2 separate regions of the Homo sapiens genome follow, and region 1 is linked to region 2. Evidence: promoter capture Hi-C in human tissues and cell types (Jung and others, 2019). All regions are on one chromosome and are shown on one strand. Each heading gives the region's core, a stretch centred on a gene start or on the middle of the fragment in contact. The rest is flanking DNA. Distances are from core to core; before and after follow the strand shown.

The links. The method cuts DNA at HindIII sites, captures the fragments that hold promoters and counts their contacts. A contact is called where the count stands out against the background at its distance.
Region 1: a fragment that was not itself captured here is called in contact with the fragment with the promoter of ANKRD61 in region 2 in 2 of the 25 tissues and cell types used here (mesendoderm cells and spleen).

The regions. Positions count from the first base shown.
Region 1 is chr7:5,906,603-5,909,302 of GRCh38, reverse strand. The region is part of intron 7 of CCZ1 (CCZ1 vacuolar protein trafficking and biogenesis associated); the gene reads right to left. Among named protein-coding and RNA genes, the nearest start is that of CCZ1, 9.2 kb to the right of the region's middle. The HindIII fragment of the contact is 4,548 bases long and covers 1-2,700 here.
Region 2 is chr7:6,029,998-6,032,697 of GRCh38, reverse strand. ANKRD61 (ankyrin repeat domain 61) reads right to left here and starts at 1,322. Exons shown (of 3, transcript NM_001271700.2): 1 at 1,107-1,322. The coding sequence starts at 1,322. The region is part of intron 11 of EIF2AK1 (eukaryotic translation initiation factor 2 alpha kinase 1); the gene reads left to right. The HindIII fragment of the contact is 7,395 bases long and covers 1-2,700 here.

The sequences.
Region 1 (2,700 bases), core at 1-2,500, 120 kb after region 2:
CAGCCTCCTGAGTAGCTGGGACTACTGGTGCTTTTCTCTTTAACATTATATCAAGAGGCTCACCACCTGACTGCGAAGTTAAGGAAGGTAAAGGGTTAAACTTGAGTCCAGGCACTGGAACTTTATCCTGACCTGCAAAAGGCTACTCCTACAGTCCTGTATTTTACATGCCATTTGAGATAAAAAAAAAAAAAAAGTCACAAGGGATTGGACTCGCTGGTTGAATTCCGTGTAGGATTATGCAGGAAACCTCCAAAGCCACACTGTTTCATTTTAGGAGCAGATGTCTCTTAGCTTCCTGGGTTATATGGTAATGCCACATTCTCTCCCCTAGTCCCCTGGGAAAATATGGGTATGCTGTAGACAGGGAACGTGATCCTAGGTCTCAGAAATGTACATGGATTTTAATTCTCCGGATCTTCGGTGAAGAAAGAGGAGGAGGAGAAAAACAAGCTTTCAGGCAAACCACCTGATCTGAAATGAGGCAGGAAGGAGCAGCACATGGAAAAAGCACAGAGAAACTAGCAGGTATCAGACTCTGGAACCGGTTTTTTAAAAGGAGACAGACAATGAGGCTGGATCTGGGCGTTTTCTATTCAAGATCACTGAAATACCGTGAAGGTGGTCGGGCGCGGAAGCTCACACCTGTAATCCCAGCACTTGGGGAAGCCAAGGTGAGCAGATCACCTAAGGTCAGGGGTTCAACACCAGCCTGGCCAACATGGCGAAACACCGTCTCTACTAAAAAATATAAAAATTTGCTAGGCCTGATAGCACACACCTCTAATCCCAGCTACTTGGGAGACTGAGGCATGAGAATCGCTTGAACCTGGGAGGCGCAGGTTGAAGTGAGCTGAGATCACATCACTGCACTCTAGCCTGGGCAACCAAGCCAATGAGACTCAGTCTCAAAAAAAAAAAATCAAAGCAATATACTAAGTAAATACATAAGGGTAATATATACTCTGCTTGTGACAAGTTTTTTTTTCCACTTTTTGGTAGAGACAGAGCCTCATTATATTGTCCAGGCTGGTCTCCAAGTAACTCCTGGCTCAAGCGATCCTTCTGCCTCCTCCTCCCCAGTAGCTGGGACTATAGGTATGTGCACCACGCCTGGCTTAAAAGTCTTTTTGGTATTTAATATAACAGCTTTGGAATAAGCAATTCCGTCAAAACGTGCTGTTTTTCTTTTTCTTAGACAGGGTCTTGCTCTGTCACCCAGGCTGGAGTACAGTGGTGCTATCATAGCTCACTGCAACCTCAAACTTCCAGGCTCAAGTGATTCTCCAGCCTCAACCTCTGTAGTCTCTGTAGTTGGGACTCTAAGTGCACACCACAATGCCCAGCTATTTTTTTTTTTTTCCATTTTTTGTAGATACAGTCTCACTATGCTGCCCAGGCTGGTCTTGAACTCCTGGTCTCAAGTGATCCTCCTGCCTCAGCCTCCCAAAGTGCTGGGATGACAGGTGTAAGCATTGGCGCCTGTTTTGCTTGAAGGTTATTTTTGTTGCTACTTCCTGGGACTGACCTTTCCCCACGAGCACACTGGAGGTGACAACAGAACAGTTCTGTGCAGCCACCAGAGCTGTGCCCTGCTCAACCCCTCAGATGCTATTCCAAGATGACGATGCCAACAGGATCCCCAGAGCTGGGCGCCAGATTGTCCTGTGACTCCAGGCTTCAAAGGGCCAACCCTGCTGGTCACTCTGGCTCCAGGGTCTCCCAGAATGAGCTCCTGGAAGACCCTCTGCTCTAAGCCTTCCCTCTTCCTCACTCTCAGGAGTTTGCACCCATGGCGGGGCTTGTGTTCTGTCCCAGAGATCAGAATCTCAGCTACCCTTCTCTTTTTGGTGGAAGCAAGGCCATGGGCCACTACTGCTGGATTCTGGCTTGTCACATGACATCTCCCTATCGCTGTGGCTGCGTGTGACTTGCAAGCACGTCCTGTCATTTCCATCTGTGGAGGAGCCATCCCTCTGCAGACCTGATGCTACAGAAGCACAACTAGCCTCCCATCTCCTACATTTCACAGCAGAATTTCACTTTAGTAACATTGTGTACATATCACAGAAAGCAACTATAGCTGAGTCAGTACAGTGTAAGGTTGCCTGATAAACTATTTGTCAAATTAGAAAGTAGGTGGAGGCGGGGCACAGTGGCTCACACCTGTAATCCCAGCACTGGGAGGCCAAGGTGGGCGGATCCTTTGAGGTCAGGAGTTCGAGACCAGCCTGGCCAACATGGTAAAACCCCATCTCTACAAAAAAATTAGCTGGGTGTTGTGGTATGCACCTGTAATCCCAGCTACTCGGGAGGCTGAGGCAGGAGAATTGCTTGAACCCAGGAGGCAGGGGTTGCAGCAAGCCAAGATCATGCCACTGCACTCCAGCCTGGGCAACAGAAAGCGACTCCATCTCAAAAACAAAAAAAAAAGTAGATGGGTTTCACCCGAAATTTCTGTTGTCTTCCTAGGAGATAAAGTTCATGTGGAAACCCACCAAGTTGTTTATTAACTGGATTCAAATTTCTTTACAGTAACTTGTTTCTCTTCTTAAAATGGAGCTACAAGATTTTGGCAGGGAAGGTAAATTTTAGGGGAACTAGTTTTGCCTTTTCTATTAGCTGAATTTACCTTATAGTAGTACCATATGGCCACACCCCTAATTAAGAAACTGGGCTAGGCCAGGTGCAGTGGCTCAC
Region 2 (2,700 bases), core at 73-2,572:
TCCTTTCTACTACCTGTTTTAAATGATCAAAATTCAGTGAATTCCATCCTATAAAATCTGTGTTTCACAGAAATGCACATTTACTGAGGCAACAGAAATAACACTCAAAAGCTTTGGAAATTTTTGAAAGTTGATTCTTCAGAAGAGCCTGTGGTGTGATATTAAGGGTACTTGCTATGAAGTCACTTATTCCTTAAATTAACCCACAGGGTGATGGACAAGTAGGTGCTGTGTCGTTGCCAAAGTCGTATTATCAGCAGTAAAACCTGAATCTTCAGGGTTTTCAAATATAACGCAGCATATGTTCTGTCTATGATTAGCAGAGCTGTTTGTGCCAGCTCTTAAAATACACACGTGTAAGTAGTGGTTTCACACCGTGGCTGCAAGATAAGACAGTAGGGTACAAGGGAGGGTGACTTCCTTTTTGAATTTAATTGTAAAAGTAATAATCATTGTATAAAAATTTAGAAAATGAAAATGTATATATTAAAAAGGGAAAAACTATTTTTTGTTTGTTTGTTTGAGATGGAGTCTTGCTCTGTCATCCAGGCTAGAGAGTGCAGTGGTACGATCTTGGCTCACTGCAACCTCTGCCTCCTGGGTTCAAGCAATTCTCCTGCCTCAGCCGTCCGAGTAGCTGAGATTACAGGCTCCTGCCACCAAGCCCGGCTAATTTTTGTATTTTTAGTAGAGACGGGGTTTTGCCCTGCTGGCCAGGCTGGTCTCGAACTCCTGACCTCAGGTGATCCACCCACCTCAGCCTTCCAAAGTGCTGGGATTACAGGCATGAGCTACTGCGTCTGGCCAAAAAAGGGAAAAACTAATTTGACCACATGGAGATCATCACTGTGGGTATGTTTGAGAGATGACATGAATGGTCTTCCAGTCACACAGGGTCTGGTGTTTTCTCATGTTGGTTTGTGTGTGACATGTGTAGGGGAGGCTTTGCAGGCTTTGGGGAGCACTGCAGTGTGTGTGGAGTGAGCTGGAGTCGTGTCTCATTCTCATAAGGGCCGTGAGCTTAGTGGGTTCACCAGCTTTAGATCATGCTTCTTTCTAAGCAGCCTGACTTTTTTCCAGAAGTGACTGAGCAGAAAAGAGGGTACCTGGGTCAGAAGTAATCTGTTGCTGGCGGAGTTGGGCAGAATGGTGATGGGCTGGTTGACAGGGTGATTTCTCAGGAGTACCTCGATCGTAGTGCAGTCTTCTCTCATGATGGCTTCATAGAGTTTCGAGTGAAGTGCTGCAGATGGGCCATCTTCCAGGGACTTGGCACTGTCAACCACCAGGTCTCTGCTTCCTTTCCTGGTTATATTCCCCATGAGAAAAACTTAAGACTTCAGGGGAAAATGTTGTTATGGAATTGGTCAGTTTCAGTCTCTTTGTGATGATTCTTTCAGTTCAGTTCTAGAACTGTTCTAGAATTTGTCGAGAATTGGATCTGTGAAGGCAATCCATCAGTTTGGAACCAAGCGTCCAGACTTTGTTCCTTGATCATAGAATGTCAAATGTCAGCAGTTTTTAGGGTTTTCTACTCTATCATAAAAACATATTCAAGCTATCATCTTACACCTTTATTTCTGATTTCTCTCCAGTTCAAGTGTAGCTGAAACAATGATCAAAGCTAAAACAGAGGAATTTATACATTAAAATACAAAGTTAAAATTATTACTTTTAAAGTAAGAAAACTTTTAACCTTAAGTTATTTTTTAGTTTTTATTATAATAGAATCTTCCCTCTCCCCATTATGGGTTCAGTTTTTCTCCGGCATAGGAATAGTTTGGGAGATGTTTTGGGTCTGTACTCTTTGCTTAAATAAAGCCATTTAGTGTGATCTATTAGTTCCCAACCCTGGCTAATACATATGAGTTATCTGGGAGCTTTTAAAAAATATCAAAGTTGGCTGGGTGCGGTCGCTCATGCCTGTAATCCCAGCACTTTGAGAGGCCAGGGCGGGCAGAACATGAGGTCAAGAGATCAAGACCATACTGGCCAACATGGTGAAACCCTGTCGCTACTAAAAATACAAAAAGTAGCTGGCTGTGGTGGCGTGCGCCTGTAGTCCCAGCTACTCAGGAGGTTGAGGCAGGAGAATTGTTTGAACCTGAGAGGTGGAGGTTACAGTGAGCCGAGATGGCACCACTGCACTCCAGCCTGGCGACACAGCAAGACTCTGTCTTAAAGAAAAAAATCAGTTTTTTCGTAGTGCGAGAAACATGCTCACCCGTCCAAACCCAAAGAGTGAACTTAGAGGCACAAAGAACAGTGAAAGTGAGACTTTTAATAGCCCTCTTGCAAGGTCACGTGTCTGGTAGGCAGGTACACCCAGGGCAGTTACAACAGGTGATTTATCTCCTAGCATGCAAGACCCTACCTCAGTTCCTCACTGGTCAAGGACTACAGGGTTACGATCTTCCCGGACGTCGCCTAAGTTGCATTATCCCCTTAGAAGGTTATACCCTGGTCCCTTTCCCGCTTAAGTTTGGATTTCCCAGTAATGAAACTTTCTTCCCTTTTATGGGCTGACTCCTCTACATCCTGTTCACTTATTGTGATCTTCCAGGTGGATGAGCCATGTGGTTTGTTACATTTGCAGGCTGGCTGCCGGTGCTTAGATTTATCATGCCTTGAAAAAGCCATTTAAAATGTTTTCTCACACATAGAAAATCACGTCTCTGGACTCGACAGGACAGTCGTTTC